Linked DNA regions of Homo sapiens: regions 2 and 3 are each linked to region 1. The links are contacts of gene promoters, found by promoter capture Hi-C in blood cells and fetal thymus (Javierre and others, 2016). All regions are on one chromosome and are shown on one strand. Each heading gives the region's core, a stretch centred on a gene start or on the middle of the fragment in contact. The rest is flanking DNA. Distances are from core to core; before and after follow the strand shown. Region 1 holds the start of BRSK1 (BR serine/threonine kinase 1). Region 2 holds the start of ZNF865 (zinc finger protein 865). Region 3 holds the start of CCDC106 (coiled-coil domain containing 106).

Region 1 (4,109 bases), core at 706-3,205:
AATAGTTACAGAACCAGGCCAGGTGTGGTAGCTCACGCCTGTAATCCCAGCACTTTGGGAAGCTGAGGTGGGCAAATCACAAGGTCAGGAGTTTGAGACCAGCCTGACCAACATGGTGAAACCCCATCTCTACTAAAAATACAAAAATTAGCCAGGCATGGTGGCGGGTGCCTATAATCCCAGCTACTCGGGAGGCTGAGGCAGGAGAATCGCTTGAACCCAGGATGTGGAGGTTGTAGTGAGCTGAGATTGTGCCACTGCACTCCAGCCTGGGAGACAGAGCAAGATTCCGTCTCAAAAAAAAAAAAAAAAAAAAAAAAAAAAAAAAAAAAAGGCTACAGAACCAGCCTGGCTAACAGGGTGAAACTCCATCTCTACTAAAAATACAAAAAAAGCCGGACGCCTAAAATTGTACCCTGCTCAACAGGCCCCTCTTAACCCCCTTCCCTGCTGTAGTCACCTCCTCAGCACGGACATGATTATCTAACACACCATACATTTTGCCTATTGACCTTGCTGATCATCTGTTTCATCCACCAGCATGGAAGCTCCACAGGACAGGCCTTTTTGCTGATTTAGGTCACTGCCACGTTCTTACCAACAGGAACAGTGCCTGGCTGAGATTTGGCACTCATTAAAGATGTGTGGACTCAAGGTGTTGAATGGGGGACTGGGAAATCTCACAGGAGCCAATAGGCTCCTGTGTGCACTTTATTTTATTTTATTTTTGTTAGAGACAGGGCCTCACTCTGTTGCTCAGGCTGGAGTGCAGTGGTGCAAACGTAGCTCACTGCAGCCTAGAACTCACTGACTCAAGCCTCAGCCTCCCAAGTAGCTGGGACTACAGGCACATGCCACCATGCCCGGCTAATTTTTAAAAAAATTTTTGTAGGGATGGGGTCTCACTGTGTTGCCCAGGCTGATCTTCCCACCTCTGTCTCCCAAAGTATTGGGATTACAGGCATGAGCCACCTTGCCCAGCCCTGGGTGTGCTTTACAGGGGACTTGAGAATTAAATGGGTGTCTAACACTTGCGGGTACATGACATAGAGGGATCTATGGTTTATGCGGAAAGCTAATGGGGGCAGGCGGGTTACTCACAGGCAGAGCACATGCTTGTGGACCTGCTACAGTGGGGATGTATGGGCTGTACTGGGGTCCACATGAAGATATAAAGGACCCTATGACGAGCACAGAGAATATATGGGGGTCTAAAAACATAACACAGGGAAACTGAGGGGGTTCTGGAAGCTTCTCTGTAAAGAGAATCCAAAATCACTCTGGGCTGTGGGTAGATATGGGGCCTTGACATTGGTGGGGACACAGACTTACCCTTACCCTGAATGGGTGGCCTTAGGGGGCTGGGGAAACAGACATGAATTTTGGGTCAGCAACTCCAAGAATTCTTTCCCCTCTCTGTCTCTGTCTCCCTCCATATGTCCCCACCTCTCCCCAGCACGTGTCCCTCCACCTGTGTGTACCCCCGGCCCTCTCTACAGCTCCATCTGCGCCCCCTCTCCCCCACCTCTCTGGTTGGTCTTCCTCTCTCTGTCTCTCTGAATCTCTGACTCTCTCCATCCCTCTGTCGGCTTCCAGCAGCTTTCTCTCCCTCTCCCTGTCTGTTTTCCCGGCTTGCCATTCCTTCCTTCTCTTCTGTCCCTGTCCATCTCTGCCCTTCCTCCCTCTCTGCCTCAGCCTGTCTCTGGTGGTCTCCATCCCTCTGGCGTCTCTGCCTGTCTCCCGTCTCTGTGTCAGCCAGCATCTCTCTTTGTGTATCTCCATCTCTGCCCCATCTGTTGGGTCCTCTCTCTCTCTCTCCATCCTTCCCTCCATCCTCTCTCCTGCATCCTCCCACCTCCTCTCCATCCCTCCAGCTGGAGGCCCGCCCCCTGCCCCCCCTCGCTCCCCCTCCCCCCTCCGAAAGGGTTAACTTTGGGGAAGGGCCCGGAGTCCCCGGATGGTGATGTCAGCGTGCCGGAGAGAAAGGACGAGGTGGCGGGGGGAGGCGGAGAGGAGGAGGAGGCGGAGGAGAGAGGGCGCGTGGGGGGGCGGGGGGGACCTCGGCCTGCAGCATCCGCCGGCCCGCACCTCAGACCCCCCCGGCGGGGGGAGGCGCAGGAAGCGGGGGGCCGGCCAGAAACGGGCTGGGGAGGGGGGGCCCCGCAGCCCCCCTGGGCCATGCTGACTCCCGGGGCCTGACCCCCCCGGGCCAGCCCCCCCTCCCCCAGCTCCGCGGCCCGCCGACTGGGGGGGGCCAGCCCAGCCCCCTGGGGACCCCCGGAGAGGTGGGGGGCAGCCGGGGGGGCCGGGACGGAGCGGTCGCCGGCCCCCACCGGAGAGACGGGGCGACGGCCGCAGGGGGGGCGGCCGGGGGACCGGTCGGGCCGGGACCAAGGGCACCATGTCGTCCGGGGCCAAGGAGGGAGGTGGGGGCTCTCCCGCCTACCACCTCCCCCACCCCCACCCCCACCCACCCCAGCACGCCCAATATGTGGGCCCCTATCGGCTGGAGAAGACGCTGGGCAAAGGACAGACAGGTGAGCCTAGCAGAAGGGGACACCTGGGGCGGGGGGCAGGGTGGAGGTGGCGGCAGAGGCGGGACTCAGGGTATTCAAATGGCAGGGGCTGGCTGCCCAGACCCCTGGGCCCCTCATAGAGAAGGGACTTGGGATTCAGACTCCTGGGTCCCTGGATGGAGGGGGTGGGGGGCGCAGACTCAGGTCCTGGAGGAGAGGGGCTGGGGGCCTGGACTCCTGGGTCTGAGGGAGGAGGGGCTGGGCACTGGACTCCTAGGTCTGAGGGAGGAGGGCCTGGGGGCCTGGACTCCTGGGTTTCAGGGAGGAGGGCCTGGGGGTCTGGACTCCTGGGTTTCAGGGAGGAGGGGCTGTGCTTGGACTCCGGAGTCTGAGGGAGGAGAGGCTGGTGGCCTGCACTCCTGGGTCTGAAGGAGAAGGGCTTGGGGGCCTGGACTCCAGGGTCTGAGGGAGGAGGGGCTGGGGGTCTGGACTTCTGGGTCTGAGGGAGGAGGGGACTGGGGTCCTGGACTTTTGGGTTTGAGGGAGGAGGGACTGCGGTCCTGGACTTTCAGGTCTGAGGGAGGAGGGCCTGGGGGCCTGGACTCCTGAGTATGAAGGAAGAGGGTCTGGGGTCTGGACTCCTGGGTCTGAGGGAGGAGGGGCAGGGGTGCTGAACTCCTGGGTCTGAAGGAGGAGGGGCTGGGGGCCTGGACTCCTGAGTCTGAGGGAGGAGGGCGGTCGGAACCTTGAGTGTTGGGACAGGGAGTTTGGGGCCCCAGTGCTCCAGTCCCCATAGGGGCAGAGGCTGGAGGGGCTCCAGGGCCAGGGAGGGGATGGAGGCGGCCTGCAGAGTGGGGCCGGGCTGGGACCTGAGGTTCTTGCTGCAGTACAGCTGCAGACCGGGGTGCAGTGCATCCATCCTGGGAAACCTCTTCCCTCCCCACTGTCCTCTGGCCTCCAGTTCTCCAGGCAGCAGGTTGGGGTGACAGGGGCCGTGGGGCCTAAGACATTCTCCCCTTCTCTGGCATGCTGGCTCAGAGTGGGAAACAGGATGGAGGGTGGGAAGGTGGGCTGCAGCAGGCGCGTCTCCTGGAGCGGCTGTGGAAAGGGCGTTCATCCTCTGCTGTTGCTGAACGCTGGCCACCGGCCGCGGCCTCCTTCCTGCCGGATGGATGGTGGGTGGAGGTGACATGGGAGCTGAACGCCCAGAGTCTCTATGAAGCTCAGGGCCAGAGCTGGCAGGAGTGGGGACCGACTGGGCCGTAACTGGGAGCTGAGACCCTAGGGAAAAGGAGAGGGTCAAAGTCCCAGATCCTGAGTGGTAAGAGTGTGAAGGTGTTGCTGACCTGAATTCCTGAGTTACAGGAGAAGAAGGGGTCAGACCTGGACTGGGTCTGAGGGAGGAGGGGCTGGGCCTGGAGTGCTGGGTCTGAGGGAGGAGGAACTGGGGGTCTGGAGTGCTGAGTCTAAGGGAGGAGGGGCTGGGGGTCTGGAGTGCTGGGTCTGAGGGAGGAGGGGCTGGGGGCCTGGAGTGCTGGGTCTGAGGGAGGAGGGGCTGGGGGCCTGGAGTGCTGGGTCTGAGGGAGGAAGGGG
Region 2 (4,227 bases), core at 1,055-3,554, 320 kb after region 1:
AGAAATTCTGCAGCCACTTTGCCCCACCTCCTTGTCCTGAGGACCTACTGTTTGGAAGGAAAAATTAAGACAAAGGTATGAGCAGGACGGTCTGGGTAAGGTTTAGAGATAAGGGGTGTGGATTGGGGCGGGGCTAAGGAGCGAGGGGTGGGGCTGAGATTGCGGGGCAGTTAGGCTGGGACCTGGGGCGGGGGCTTAGAAGAGGGTTAGAGTTGGGTGGGGCTTAAAGAGGTTTAGGGGTTGGTCCGCAGAAAGTGAGAGCGGTTTAAAGAGGATGGATAGAGTTGATCTAATAGAGAGTAGGGGCTTGGAGCTGGGGAAGAACAGGAGGAACTGCGTGAGAGTGGGGCAAGGAGGACGGATAATTTTTTTTTTGAGACAGGGTCTCGCTCTGTCATCCAGGCTGGAGTGCAGTGGCCCTATCACCGCTCACTGCAGCCTCGACCTGCCAGGCTCAAGCGACCCTCCTGCTTCAGCCTCCGGAGTAGCTGAGACTACAGACGGGCGCCAGCATATTTAGCTAATTTTTTTTTTTTGAGACGGAGTCTTGCTGTCGTCCAGGCTGGAGTGCAGTGGGGCAATCTGGCTCACTGCAACCTCTGCCTCCCGGGTTCAAGCAGTTCTCTCCCTCAGCCTCCCGAGTAGCTGGAATTACAGGCGCCCGCCACCACGCCTGGCTAATTTTTGTAATTTTAGTAGAGACGGGGTTTCACCATCTTGGCCAGGCTGGTCTTGACCTCCTGACCTCGTGATCCACCCGCCTCGGCCTCCCAAAGTGCTGGGATTACAGGCGTGAGCCACCGCGTCCAGCCTAATTTTTGTATTTTTTTTTTTTGTAGAGACGGGGTTTTGCCATATTGCCCAGGCTGGTCTTGAACTCCTGTGCTCAAGCAATCCGCCTGCCTTGGCCTCCCAAAGTGCTGGGATTACAGGCGTGAGCCACCACGCCAGGCCAAGAGAACGGATTTTAAGGTGAGGGGCGGAGCTTATAATAATTCAGCTCTGAGGTGGGCGTGGTTCAGGGCCGAGGGCCGGGGGCCGGGGCTTAAAGGAGAAACTCTGAGGGAACAGGGTATTGGAGGTGGGACTTAGAAGGTGCTGATGGGGGCGCACGACTGCTATGGAGGCGATGGGGAGAGAAGGAAGTACTTAATCTAAGGGAAGTTCCTGGGAGAGTGGAAGCTTAGCAGGAGGGGCTGAATGGGTCTGGGTTTGGCTGTTTGGGATGGGGCTGAGTTGGGAGCCGGGATTATAGCGATTATATGAGCGGGCAGTGTCAAGTGTGGTAAATCCATGGCTCTTGACCAGCATGCAGCAGAATCAGAGTATTTCAAAACACGGATCCCTAGACCCCCAACCCCAGGGCTTCTATTCCGCATGGTCTGAGCAGGCAGCCGGATGCTGCTGGCCTCCCAACTATCCTTGACAACCACCGATTTAAAAGAATGCTTTAGAGGTGGGAGGCACTCAAAAGTCACGAGGTGCAACTTAAATGCTATGGGGTGAAGGGGCGGGGCTTGGATGGAGGGGGCGGGGCCTAGGGAGGGGTGAAGTTCCAGAGAGTGGGAGCTTGGAGAGGGGGAAGAACAGGAGAAACTGCATGAGGGCGAGGGGACGAAGACAGACTTTGAGGCAGTAGGGGGCTTATAATCACGCTGTGAGATGGGCGTGGTTCAGGGCCAGGGGGCGGGGCTTCAGTGTGAGACCCGAGCCGGAGGTGTGGCTTAACCGGACGCCCAGAGCGTGTCGCGGGGTTCCCGTAGAAGAGGCGGGCATTCAAAGCGCAGGCGCACCTGGCTCAGTTCGCCCACCGGAATCGGCCCGGGCTTTCACTGCTCGCGTCCCCGAGTCAGTGCGCAAGCGCATTTCCCCCCTCCTGGTCCCCGCCACCGCCTCCTCTTTCCGATCCTCCACGCCGGCGCCTCGGGAACGGGCGCGACTTCCGCTTCCGGGCGGGCGGGCAGGCGGGCGGTGCGGGGCTGCCGGGGAGGGGGGAGGGGGCGGCACTTCCGGTCGGGCCCTCGGGTCTCCCCGGAGCGGCGGCGCCTCCTCCGCCTCCTCGGCCTCCTCCCGGCGGAGACCCCGGCGCCGGTGAGTGACGGGGTGCGTGGCCCGGGGGCCCGGGTGCAGCGGGGGCGGGGGGCCCCGCCCTGGCCCGCTGTGGTCCCCAGAACGTCCCCCAACCCCTAGCAAGTCAGTGCAGCTCCCGCCGGGCCCTTGCCAAGGGACCCCCAATCACTGCTCCCCGGTAGGATCACTGCAGATAGCTCCCCCATGAACGCCCCCAGCTAGGATGGCTGCCAAAGCGCTTTCATTCGTGGCGATCCCCTAAACGGCTGCCAGGGCCCCCAAATGATACCTCCTCGTAGGATCCCCTCCACATAGCGCTCCCCGTCATTGCTTCCTCCAGGTCAGCCTCCAGATGCCATCAGCATTGCCCCTCCCCATGTAGGGCAGCTGCTCGTGAACCCTCTTATTAGTATCCTCTATATAATTCTCCCCAGAGTGTTTCCTTAGTGCCTTGCAGCAGAACTGTCCCCCGTTATCTCTGTCCATACAGCAACAGCCCCCAATGGCCCTGACCACCTCCCTCCCCAGCAGAACGCCCCTTCGTGGGTGTGAAAATACTTTCTATTCTGGTCAGCACCAAGAATGCCTTTTTCCCTTCTGCAGGTCCTCCAGTGATTCCCCTTAAGAATGCCCCTTTCAAAGCCACCCCCCCATCGCAGCGGCACAGCTCCCTCTAGAGTTCCTTCACACTCACATCCTCTCCCGCCTCAGGTAGAAATATCCGCCTGCTTAGCTCCAGGCTCCCATGACATACTCCCGTACCTCCTCTCACCCCACCCTCATCGCGGTCAGCCCGTCTTCATTACTTCTGCCACAGAACAGTGTCCCGCAGTGAGGCGGTGAAGCCTTCCTTCCCAGAATGTGCCTCATCCTCTTCCTATGGCGTGAACAACTGTTGCCCTGACCTGCAGCTTCTCACCCAGCTCTCAGGCTATCGTCCTGGACTCCCTAGGGAAGACCCTGGACTTCACTAGGGTGTGACTTCTTTTCTCGTAGGCATTCCTTCTGCGTTGAACGCATATTCACTATTCTAGCTGAAGGGTATAATATACAGCCACGAAGGGGGTCGATACACACAGTGTTCTCACTGTGCGGGGTCTCACAGTCTAGTTGATCAGACACGAGTCGACAAAGATACACGGGGTTTTGTGGGTTCTCTGAGAGCCTGATGAACTACTTTAGAGGTGAAAGCTGAATTACAAGTGGCAGCTTAGCCATGCAAAGATCTGGGTGAGCAGGCAGCAAGAACAACAAGTGCAAAGGCCCTGAAGTGGCGGTGAGCACGGTGAGTGGAGGAGCAGCAGGGGAGGCCGGTGAGGGTGGAGTGGAAGATTTGAAGGCAAGAACAAGAGGAAGGAAGCTTTGGTCTCAAAAGGCTTTGGAGGTGAGGGCACTGGGATAAATTATCTAGCCTTTGTCAGCTCTACCGAGCCCAGAATGTTCTTCATTCATTCATACGTTCATTCGTAAACACTGGTTGAACAACTGTTTAATGAGCACCTACTTTACATTGGGGGTACAACAGAGAACAAAATAGACAAGAATCCCTGTCCTCATGGAGTGGATATGCTAGTTGAGGGGGCAGATGATTAAAAGACAAAATACAGGCCAGGCGAGGTGGCTCATGCCTGTAATCCCAGCAGTTGGGAAGGCCAAAGTGGGAGGATCGCTGGAGGCCAGGAGTTCAAGACCAACCTCGGCAACATAGTGAGACCCTGTCTTTACAGGAAAAAAAAAAAAAAAAAAAAAAAGCTGGGTGTGGTTGGTGGGCACCTGTAGTCCCCAGCTATTCAGGAGGCTGAGGTGGGAGGGCTGCTTGAGCCCAGGAGTTCGAGGCTGCAGTGAAAAAAAATAAAAACAAAAACCAAGAGTATATGTGCGTGTTCAGAATATCACGGGATAAAGAGATAGACCTGGGGGGCTGTGGTTCAGGATGGCCTCCCCCAGGATTTTCCTATGTCTTGTCATCTTGTCCCTCCCAAAAGCCACACACCAAAAAGTTATACAAGAGTAAAAATTCCCCTTCTCCTGGACAACTGTGGCCCACTTGGGGGCTGCTCTTAACAGCGCCCTAACCCCAGGAGCGAAGTGATTGGGAGGATGAGCCCTGGATTCCACTAGGGTTCACAGCTTTGAGCAAATCACTCCCTCCTTTCC
Region 3 (4,447 bases), core at 304-2,803, 360 kb after region 1:
GTGTTAGCCAGGATGGTCTCGATCTCCTGACCTCGTGATCCGCCCCCCTCTGCCTCCCAAAGTGTTGGGATTACAGGCGTGAGCCACTGCGCCCGGCCCACAAAAATTTCTTTACCATAGTTAGCTTTAGTTTGTGCATTTTTTTTTCCATCAACTATTATTATTACTATTTGAGACGGAGTCTCGCTGTGTCGCCCAGGCTGGAGCGTGGTGCGATCTCGGCTCACTGCAACCTCCACCTCCCCGGTTTAAGCGATTCTCCTGCCTCAGCCTCCTGAGTAGCTGGGATTACAGGTGTGCACCACCACGCCCGGCTAAATATTTTTTTAAACTGCTGATTTCATCCTATTCTATTGAATTCTCCACCCATGAACCTGTAGTTTGGAAAAGACCAATCTAGGGCAGATGGCTCCCCCTGGAATTTTTGGACCAGGCTGCAGTTAATCTGTAAAGTGGGGAGGGGAGGATCATGGTCACAGCTTTGCAGGCGGTGCAGACATTTAGATTCTCCCTCCATCGGGTTAAGACCTTGCTCTTATAAGGGCTGGCCACAGTCCAGAGCTTGGATGCTTCTGGTGAACAGGAGAGGCAGGTGGAGCTGAGCCTGAAGCTTAATAAACATCTGCTTATTCATTCATTTTTCTTGCCTATTTTGTGCCAGGCACTGTGCTAGGCCTCATTTGCTCTTCCGACCTGTTTTTTTGGGAGGAAGAACAAATCTTCCGTTCATACTCCCCAGAGTGGGAAAGAGCCTCCCAGAGGCTGCCATCATACCCCACCATCTGACCTCAAATAATACCAGCAGCGCTCCTCTCTTCAGCCCTGACGATGGCCAGGTGCTGGGCTGAGCTTCTGTGTGTCGCATCACTGCATCCTCACAATAAATTTAGAAGGGCTTGTAATTTCCCCATTTTGCAGGTGAGTTAACAGGCTGGGGAGGAGCAGGAACAGTCAGGACTGGAATCTAGCTTTGCTCCAAAGCCAGCTCTTAATTACCAACATGGGGATGGGGGTGGCGTGTTCCTGGCCCTCATTTTCCGGGAGAGGGGTAACTCCCCCGATTTTGGCCCCCACATCCCTGAGAACCTTGGGGTCTGGCTGTAGGAGGTAGGGGAGCTCTGAGGGGTCCGCGCTGGCTAGTTCCTGAGAGAGCGTTAAAAGTAGATTCTCCTTTCGCTCCAACTTTCTCGGTGTCTCAAACACTCTCCTGCCTTCTGGGCCCATTGGGCACACCGCCACCCAATCCGGGGACCCCCGGAGACTCGCCAGCTCTCCAGGATGGGAATTTCGTGATGTTCCCTGCCTGAGCTTCGGGGAGGGCGGGGGAGTGCTGTAAGGGGCTATCGCGCAAGTGCAGACCCTCTGCTTCTGCCGCAAACGGCGGGCCTCACCTGGACCCGGGGACTCTTCAACGAGGGGCGCTAGCCTGGCCCGACTGGGCGAGTCCCCGCGTCCCTGCCCGTTCCGTCGCTCAGTTCCACGACACGCTCCCCTGCCGCCCCGCCTGTTCGCGGGTGGGTGGGCGCTTCCCTCGGCTCCCCGTGACACTTTGCAGACGCTCCCCGGCGCCGGGCATGGGCGCCGCCGCCGTCGGTCCCCGAGCCGGATTCCGCGAGCGGGTGGGTGAGCGCGGGGGGCCTCGGCCCCTCGGACCCCGGGCACCCGCGGGCGGGGGATGGTGGCCGCGTTTGCACCCCCGCCCTAGTGCATGTTCCCGCTGGAATCGTTCCACGACCGCTCCCCCTCCCACCCGCGGGACAAAGGGCGGGGGCGGGGGGGGCGCACCCCCACGCGTGACCTTTCCCCGTACTGCGCACGCGCCCAGCCCCCACCACCGGGGGACGGTCCGCCCGCCCACGCGAGTGCGGGGGAGGGGTGTGGGGGCCCCGAAGGTAGAGGAGGCAGCGCGCACGGGCTGGACCTCCTCCTACCCTGGGAAGTTGGGGCAGTTTCCCCCTGCACCTGCCTCTTCCTTAGGCCTGGCAGTGGCCCGCGATGAGAGAGGGTCCTTCCCCTTCAGGCTAGGTGTCCCTGGTCAGGCGACCCCTTGGGGCACCCAGCAATTTAGGGCTTCAGCTTCCTTTTCCTTCGATACCCAGGAGCCCACGTCCCCAGCTCACTTCTCCCCCAGGACCTAGGCGGCTGGGCCCCCTGCCCCTGACTCCAGGAGCCCAGGAGTTTGAAGCCCAGGCGCGTTTTGCCTCAGTCCTGGGGTCCAGGCTCCCTCCTCCCTCAGACCAGGGGTCCAGGCCAGAAGGTCCCTCCTGTCTCACTTCACCTCCCCCAGGATGGACCCTCCAGTCCATCTGCGTCTCTCCATTTGTGGCTGCCGTTTCTGTCCAGTGCCCCTGAGGCCCTCGGCTGCTGGGGTCCGTAGGAAGCCGCGCCATGAATGACCGGAGCAGTCGGAGGCGGACAAGTGAGGAAGCTGGGTCCCCTTCCCTACCCTGGGTCCCAGTGCGGTCGGCTCCAGGCTGCCGTGGTTGGGGGGTGGCCTGAGAGGCCCGGGGAATTCTCTGGGGTAACCCGGGGCCTCTCCTCTCCAGTGAAGGACGATGAGACCTTCGAGATCTCCATTCCCTTCGATGAGGCACCCCACCTAGACCCACAGATCTTTTACAGTCTGAGCCCCTCTCGGAGAAACTTCGAGGGTGAGCTGAGGGGGTGTGGAGGGACTGGAGTCAGCTGGGAAGCCAAGCCCTGAGTCCCAGGGTGTGACCTGGTCCCCCCACCCTCGCTGTGTCCCTAGAGCCTCCGGAGGCTGCGTCCTCCGCCCTGGCTCTGATGAACAGCGTCAAGACCCAGCTGCACATGGCTCTGGAGAGGAACTCCTGGCTGCAGAAGCGCATCGAGGACCTGGAGGAAGAGAGGGACTTCCTGCGGTGCCAGCTGGACAAATTCATCTCTTCTGCTCGGATGGAGGCAGGTGTGTGTGGGGTGCTCTGATCCACATGCCTCCCTGTCCCGCTACTGGGTACCCGCTCACCCAGACTCAAGGCTCCACTGTTTGGCTGGCTGGGTGGGACCTGCCATGTTGGCCCTATCTGCTAGTCCCCTGCCTGTTTTGGGCCCCCAGGCCCAGCTGCCTCCTCACTTGATTCCAGGGCCTCATCCCCATGAACTGTCTACTGGGGCCCGTCCTCCTGCCTTCTCCGTCAGCTCCCCAAATCCCATCAGCCTCCAGTGCCCTGCCATCTGCTTCCTTGGCCCATGGTGACTTCAGGGACCCTGGCACCTGAGAGCCCCTCTCTTCTGACTCCTAGGGGGACCTTCCTTCATCTCTTTGGCCAAGAGGCCCACCCTAGTTCTTTGGGTTTCCTCAGGGGGCCCCTGCTCCTCCTCCCGTCCCTGTCTTCTCCAAGATCCAAGAGTCCAGCCATCCGGCCTCCTCCTGTCCCCCCCTCCCCTCTGTGACACCAGGGGCCATCTTCCCACCCACCCTGTCCCATCCTTGGTTAATGAGCACTCCTTCCCCATCAAAGACATTAAGTCCCTTCCTTTGTGGGCCTTTTTGGGTGGTGACCCCAGCAGGTGCTGTCCCTCAAACCCTGCCTGATTCCTGGGCAGTCCCCACCCACATACCTTGCTCTGCTATAATTCATGGCCAGAAGCAGCCCAGATAGCTCCCACAGCAGCACCCAGCCCCAGCCAGTTCACAGCTAGCGTCTTCTCTTGACTGGTGGGACCCTGTGCCCTGTTTAATACATTTTGGACCCCAGCCCCATCCTCTTCCCCGGATGGTCAGGCCGTTTGCCCGACAGCCCATGGCCTGGAGAACCCACACTCTACCCCACCTACCCTCATCTCAGCCTTGCTAGCTCCTTGGCTGGGAAGACCCCTCAAAAGCTCCCACATCTCTCTTTGTGAATTCAACCCTTTCCCCAAAAATCCTAGGCAAGGGGGCTATGGTCTTGTGGTGTCTCTGTTACTGGAAGCCCAGCATCTGGGGATCTGGCTTTCCCTCTGCTCGGGAACAAACCACCTCTGGCTGCCCTTGGGCCTGCCACTGTCTCCTCTCACTGATGGTTCCATCCTGGGTGACTGACTCCTTTGCACAGACAGTTTGGCCCTGCGGCTTCGGCACTTTCCCAGTGGGGACCCTGGCACCAGAGCCCTCCCCTAACCCGCCTTCTAGAGGAATCTGTGTCTGGGCCTCCGCCTGCCGGCTCCCTCTGTCTAGATGGAGGTGGGACCCAGCCTGCTGGACCCAGGGCCCCTGATTTCTCTCGGTCTGACCCCCCGACTCCAGCCAAGGCCTTGCCTGCCTCCTGGGTTTCCAGAGGCTACTCTCCAGAGGTCCCGCCCAGTCCCCAGAAATTTCTCCCTCCCCTATGGGAACCGCGCATAGTCACAGGGGTCCTGAGGCCCCTGGTCGGCTGCCTCCGTAAGACCTCTTGCCAACCCAGGCCTCTGAGAAAATGCTCCACCCATTACCACCTCCCACAGA

The links. Contacts are between HindIII fragments. The CHiCAGO score rates a contact against its expected background, and 5 or more counts as called.
Region 2: a fragment that was not itself captured here is called in contact with the fragment with the promoter of BRSK1 in region 1 in 15 of 17 cell types (erythroblasts, activated CD4 T cells, fetal thymus and 12 more); the score reaches 16.6 in erythroblasts.
Region 3: a contact is called between the fragment with the promoter of CCDC106 here and the fragment with the promoter of BRSK1 in region 1, in 9 of 17 cell types (non-activated CD4 T cells, naive CD8 T cells, naive CD4 T cells and 6 more). The highest score is 10.8, in non-activated CD4 T cells.

Annotation. Positions count from the first base shown.
Region 1 is chr19:55,282,042-55,286,150 of GRCh38, forward strand. It overlaps BRSK1 (BR serine/threonine kinase 1), which reads left to right and starts at 1,956. Exons shown (of 19, transcript NM_032430.2): 1 at 1,956-2,537. The coding sequence starts at 2,402. The HindIII fragment of the contact is 8,428 bases long and covers 1,250-4,109 here.
Region 2 is chr19:55,603,642-55,607,868 of GRCh38, forward strand. ZNF865 (zinc finger protein 865) reads left to right here and starts at 2,006. Exons shown (of 2, transcript NM_001195605.2): 1 at 2,006-2,091. RefSeq lists enhancers at 628-1,179, 1,180-1,731 and a silencer at 1,775-2,274. The HindIII fragment of the contact is 2,248 bases long and covers 1,181-3,428 here.
Region 3 is chr19:55,646,659-55,651,105 of GRCh38, forward strand. It overlaps CCDC106 (coiled-coil domain containing 106), which reads left to right and starts at 1,554. Exons shown (of 5, transcript NM_001370470.1): 1 at 1,554-2,419; 2 at 2,547-2,651; 3 at 2,750-2,926. The coding sequence starts at 2,389. RefSeq lists silencers at 1,630-1,749, 1,780-1,909 and an enhancer at 2,970-3,019. The HindIII fragment of the contact is 17,145 bases long and covers 609-4,447 here.